2 separate regions of the Homo sapiens genome follow, and region 2 is linked to region 1. Evidence: promoter capture Hi-C in 16 types of primary human blood cells and fetal thymus (Javierre and others, 2016). All regions are on one chromosome and are shown on one strand. The core of a region is centred on a gene start or on the middle of the fragment in contact, and the rest is flanking DNA. Distances in the headings are between cores, read along the strand shown. Region 1 holds the start of ZNRF1 (zinc and ring finger 1). Region 2 overlaps TERF2IP (TERF2 interacting protein).

Region 1 (3,201 bases), core at 702-3,201:
CTCCAACCTTTTGCTGGCCTGTCACCAGAAGTTCATAAAATGAATTCATCCAGATTCTCTGAATCCTCCTTTTCCCCAGTCATGTGCCAACAGCCAGGCAATAATGCCCCACCGTGACAGGCTCCCTGTTACAAAAAGATGCAGATTCACGGGAAGACCAAGCACTTAGCATGGAGCAGAAGAAAAAAAGATGGAGGGAGGCGAGAGTCGCGGAGCCAAGCCTGCTGCATGCAGTACGGGTGACCACAGCCCGGGTCCTGCAAAGCCCCCGCGAGACTCGCCGGCTGGGCCCTCCGTACAGCAGCCACACCTGTCTATGCCAGCCGCCTGCCGGCTGCTCCATTTTAAACATTTCAAACAGATCTCCAGCAGGGTGGCAAAACTGGGCACCTCTCTCTCCCAGCAAGAGTGAGAGCCCTAATCCAGGCATCACTTGCCCCTGATTTTATTTCATTTTCACACACTCTGTTTAGGAGACACTGCTTGCTCCAACTGGCTCCATCTCTCCGTTACCGGTGAGGCAGGCACAGTGCTGCAGTGGCAGAATGGAAGTACCCAGGCTGACTTGCTCTCAGCCAGACACGACCTCTTCTCTGAGGAGGGTGATGCCAATAAATGGAACTCCAATAGGTAGGCTTCGCTCTGCCCTTCCACAAGTGAACACACGCCGTGAGTCCCTAAATCGCCAGGCTCCGCAGCCTCGCAGAAAGCCTAGTTTCCAGACGGTAGGTATCCCATTTATCCCTTGGCATCGGGAACCAAAGGGAATGCAGACAGATCCCGGTCGTGCACTACATTCCCAAACCTTGGCACGCACGCGAAGGCTTGGGGCGCCCCGGCGCGCCCTCCCTCCGAGGCCTCCACCACCCGCGGACTCACCACTATGCGAGCTGAACCACCTGGGTGCGATGTGCAGAGGTAGAGCATCCGCCAGCGAGGCTCGGGAGCCCAGGTACAGCATCCCGTCTCTATGGTGACCGCCGCCCGTCTCCTGGTAACCATTGCCATGGGCATAGGTGGAGTCGGACGCAGACCCTCCGCCGCCGGGCGCCCTCTCGGAGTCGCCGGTGCCCCGGGAGGCGGGGGTGTAGAGGCCAAAGGGCACCCCCCCGGCCGTGCTGGGGTCCATGCCCATGCCTGCCACCGAGCTGACCGAGCGGCTGCGCAGCCCCATGGCCCCGCCGCCCGTCCGGTAGTGCCCGAAATGGGGCGCCCCTCCCGGCGGCGGCACGGCGCTGTCATCGGTGGAGACCCCCGGGAAGGGGCCCCGGGAGCGGGCCGCCGTGCTCTGCTTGCCCCCCATGCTCGCCCGGGCCCCGGTGGGGCGGGAACCTGGAGGCCGAGACCCTCCCCCACTTCTCAGCAGCAGGGGGAGGGCTGGGCGAGCATAAAGGGGGAGGGAGTCAAAAAGGAGACCCGGAGGGAGAAAAGGAAAAAAAGCAAAAGGAAAAAAGGAAAAAACCCGCGGGGCGGAAGAGGCAGGCGGGCGGGCGGGGATCCCAAACTCAGAATTTCAAACGATCCAAGGCAAACGCATGTTTCCCCTCAAGGTCCAAAGAGGCGCAGTCCGGCGCGGGCTCCGCGCGCCACAGGCCGCCCCCGGGCTCCGAAAGCCGGGGGAGCCGCAGGGAAGGAGGGAGGGAGGCGGCGGCGAGCGGCGGGCGGGCGCGGGGAGGCGCCGGAGGAGGCCGCCCGCCCCGCGGGAGGAGGCGGAGGAGGGCCGGGGGCGCCGGGCGCGTCCCCCGCCTCAGGACGCCGCGACCATGGACGGCGGCCCGGACCCCTCCAGGCCTCGGGCGGGCCGCGGCGCTGGGCGGCCAGGCGCAGCTCGGGAAGCCGCGGTCGCGTCGCGTCGCGCTCTCGCTTCAGCCGCCGCCGGCCCCGCCAGCCGCGCCGCCCCGCTCGGTCCCGGGCTGCGCTCGCCGGCGCTCCTCGCCGCCGTGGAGACAATGGAGGGCGGCAGAGCGCAGGCGCGGCCCGCGCCCCCTCCCCCTCCCCCCGCCGGGTTAACCCTTTCGCGGTCCCTGCGGCGCCTGGGCCGCTGACGCCCCAGCAGTCCCCACCCACCGCCCGCCCCCGGCCGGCCTGTGACCTGGGCGGCCTGACCACTGGGCGTTAGCCACAGAAACCAGATGTCTTTCAAAAGCAAACACTTCTTAAGTCCCCGAAAGTGGCAAATTATTCAGGGGGAACCAAGTATGGGGGAGGGGCAGCAATGGTTCGAGGGGGTGGGAAGGAAACACCGGGAAGAAGGAGATTTACTCCTTACGCCTACCTGGCTCTGAGGGTCACCGGTCGAGCTCCCCTCCTGGCACAAATTTGCCCCCACAGCACCCTCTGGTGGACGTGATGTCCATTCTTTCGGGGGTTCCCCATCCAAGCACCCCTCACGTCCGGAATCTCAACATTTGGCGGGGTTTAGTTATTTGGGGGTAAACAGCGCCATGGGGACACTTGTGAATCCGGCGTTTTGCTGACACTAGATCATAACTTCCTATTTTGGGCTTAAGCAAATGAGTAGATTCCTTAGCTAAAATGTAATTTTCAGAATCAATAGATGTACCATAAAAAGTGAATAGATATGGGTATGGAAATAGAACAACGCAGCTAGAAGTGATTATAGAAACCTTCTGTCCAAGGCTGGAGCCCTGTTTTGTTTACCATGTGCTGTGTTTCGGCCCTCACCACGGGCCAAGGACACGGTGGGTACTCAATAGGTGTATTGTTGACCAAGCCTGAATCATTTGCAAGGGAGTGTTCCTTTGCTACCTCAAGCCGTCTTTCTCCTATATTCACATTCATTTATTGAACAACTGTTTTTTTTGTTTTGTTTTGTTTTTGTTTTTGAGACGTAATCTCGCCCTGTCACCCAGGCTGGAGTGGTGTGGCGTAACCTCGGCTCACCGCAACCTCCGCCTCCCGGATTCAAGTGATTCTCCTGCCTCAGCCTCCCGAGTAGCTGGGATTACAGGCACATGCCACACTGCACCTGGCTAATTTTTTGTATTTTTAGTAGAGGCGGGGTTTCACCGTATTGGCCAGGCTGGTCTTGAACTCCTGACCTCAGGTAATCCACCTGCCTTGGCCTCCCAAAGTGTTAGGATTACAGGCATGAGCCACCGCGCCCGCCCTGTTTTTCTTTTTCTTTTTTTTCTTTTCTTTTTTTTTTTTTTTGAGACGGAGCCTTGCTCCTCCCAGGCT
Region 2 (3,135 bases), core at 47-2,546, 650 kb before region 1:
AAAAAAATAGAAAAAACAATTACTATAAACTTTTTGAAAAATATATTGACATTAAAGTACTCAAAGTGGGATGCTTTATACTGTTTATACAACTGTCCCTATTCTACCCAATTTTTCTCCCTTTCCCCCTCAACTTGTCCTGCCAAAAACTAAAAGCTTTGTGAAGCAAAAGCTTCAGGGCAACATGTCTGAAGCCCAGATCAGTCCCATTTTCCATTTTCCCTTTCCATCTTGAACTCCTCTCTCACTTTCCTGAGCCCCAGGTAGATGAAAAAGGTGTACAGGATAACCAGTTTCAAAGAAGAATGAAGGTAGGGAAAAAAATAATGAGTAAATCTAGTTAACATACCACAACCTCCTCAAACTCCCGGGTGGCTTCCACAAGCATCTTTTTGACTGCTTCTTCATTCTCCTGGATTTCTTCCTTCACATACTCTTCTTCAGGCAAATCTGGAGTTCTCTTATTCTGTGGTTCTGTTAAAGAGAAGAACAGCACAGATTAGCAATAGCCTCTTTTACATAAACCAAAAATATATTTGCTGTGTGAGCTCTGGGCCAGGAGTGAGCCTGCACTTTTTTTTTTTTTTTTTTTTTTTTTACTATCAGAAGACATCTGTTCTTGATTCAGAAGGGTAAAAAAAGCCTAGGACGTGCTCATTCACCCATTTCTATGCTTGCTTCTGAAAAGATGTACTATCCAAACAATGATACATTCTTAAACTCTGACATATAAAAATGCTCAAGTTTAATTCATTTTTTGCTTTGTAGTTACAGACTTTGCAAATTAATAAAAATGTGTCATAAATTGGGTTCCTTGGGAAGCAAATTCTGAGATGGAGATGGAAATTTAAAGAATTGGGAAGTGATTTTGGGAAAACCTTTGTGGAAGAGCAGGAGTGGGCAGAGAGAGAAGCTGACTTATCAAAGAGTTTCAACAAGACCTCAGCCAAAACCATGGGCAACTCTGGAGCTAGGAAGGCCCTTCAGAACTGACCAAGCTGGGGCCAAGGAGCAGACTTTGTAACTCTGCAAATATCAGTCACTGGATGGTGGCAGCCCTAAGAAGACAGGAGTTTGGGCAAGGCAGCTCTCCTAGCAGCCAAAGGCAGATCTGGGCCACGTACCACAATCCACCAATATACCATCTACAAAAAGGAGGGCCTCCTAAATTTAAACATCCTGTTCCTTTCCTTTACATTTTGTTCTCTGAAGATTTAACTCTGCTCCTTTTCTACTTACTAAAACATACTACAAAGGGGCAGCAAGAGGGAGTTTTTCGTGATGGAATTGTTCTAAATCCCAATGTGGGTGCTGGTTACAAAAATTTACCTATGTTAAAACACATATAACTGGAAAAGAGTACAGCAGTTCCTCAAAAAATTCAATATAATTTCATGATGACAACCCACAAGGAAAAAGAAAAAATTAAACATAAAATTACCATATGATCCAGCAATTGCATTTCTAGGCATATACCTAAAATAATGGAAAGCAGGGTCTCAAACAGATACTAGTTATACCCATGTTCACAGCAGCATTATTCAAAATAAACAAAAGATGGAAATAAGCCAAATGTCAATTGATACATTAATGGAAAAACAAAATGTAGTATATACATACAATGGAATATTATTCACCTTTAAAAAGGAATCAAATTCTGACACATGCTACAATATGGATGAACTTTGAAGATATTATGTAAAGTGAAATAAGCCAGACACAAAAGGGCAAATATTACATGATTCTACTTGTATGAGGTATCTAGAAATATTGAATTCATAGAAACAGAAGGCGGAATGGTTGTTTCCAGGGGCTAAGAGGAGGGAGAAATGGGGAATTAGTGTTTAATAGGCATGTTTCTGACCCCTAGAAGCAGAAAATAATAAAAGGCATGGAGTTTCAGTTTTAGAAAATGAGTAAGTTCTAGATACAGATGGTGGTGACAGTTGCCCAACAATGTGAATGCACTTAATAATGCCACTGAACAGAACACTTAAAAAACTATCTGAACTGTAAATTTTACGGTATATACATTTTACCACAATAAAAAATAAAGTTTTTAAAATGCATATAATTTTACACCATAAAAAGTTAATTTTACTGTATGTATTTAATAAAATTCTTAAATAGTAACTAAAAGAGGCTTATCTTTGAGAGATACATGCTAAAATAGATAAAATGATATGATGTCTGGCATTTGCTTCAAAACAGTCCAGGAAGTTGGGATGAAAAGTATAGATTTAAAAAATGCCATGAACTAAAATCAGGTGAAGGTGGGTGATGGGTATATGCAGTATAGTTCATTATACTATTCTGTATTTGTAAATGCTTGGAATTCTCCATAATAAAAAGTAAATTACTGTTCATTCACATAATGAAATACAGTGCAATCAATTAGAAAAGAATGAGGAAAAGCTTTGTGCAGACACACAAACACTTCAAGATAAATAATTAAGTTTAAAAAAAGTAAACCACAGATTAAGTTGATGTCTAGTGTGCTAGTATTACTATGAGCAAAGGGGACATGCAACAGACAAGAGACGGTAATAGAGGCTGCCCCTAGGAAAGGACCCAGGGAAAAGGGTATGTAAATAGGGAGACTGCCTTTTCAGTATGTACCCATTTGTACTCTGAGTATATCTACGGGATAAATTCCTAGAACAAAACTGCCATGTTTAAGGGAATATACGTTATAAATGTCATCAGATATTGTCAAAATGCCCCCCAAAGAAATTGTATCAATTTCTATTAACAACGTAGGAGTATACTTGTTTTCCCATACACTAACTTTGGATATTACCCATTGTATTGACTTTTGCCAATCTTATAGATAAAGTATAACATCTCCTTGCTCTGATTTAGTTAAAAAAAATAAATAACTTGGGGAGCTTTTGTTCTATTTTGTATAATGGAAGCTATCTCAATTCATCAAATAAATACAAAACAATTCCAACACACATATTTATTATCTCACAGGTCTCATGGGTCAAAGTATAGCTTATACTGACCCTAGGCTCAGGGTCTGATTTACTTTCTTTCTTCTTCTTTTTTTCTTTCCGAGATGGAGTCTGGTTCTGTCACCCAGGCTGGAGTGCAGGGGCTTGATCTCAGCTCATTGCAACCTACACCTCCCTG

What was found. Contacts are between HindIII fragments. The CHiCAGO score rates a contact against its expected background, and 5 or more counts as called.
Region 2: a contact is called between a fragment that was not itself captured here and the fragment with the promoter of ZNRF1 in region 1, in 2 of 17 cell types (neutrophils and naive CD8 T cells). The highest score is 6.2, in neutrophils.

The regions. Positions count from the first base shown.
Region 1 is chr16:74,997,774-75,000,974 of GRCh38, reverse strand. ZNRF1 (zinc and ring finger 1) reads right to left here and starts at 1,951. Exons shown (of 5, transcript NM_032268.5): 1 at 880-1,951. The coding sequence starts at 1,303. RefSeq lists an enhancer at 80-139 and silencers at 930-1,239, 1,640-2,159. The HindIII fragment of the contact is 6,289 bases long and covers 1-3,201 here.
Region 2 is chr16:75,651,612-75,654,746 of GRCh38, reverse strand. TERF2IP (TERF2 interacting protein) reads right to left here. Exons shown (of 3, transcript NM_018975.4): 2 at 350-474. Among named protein-coding and RNA genes, the nearest start is that of TERF2IP, 5.4 kb to the right of the region's middle. The HindIII fragment of the contact is 2,243 bases long and covers 175-2,417 here.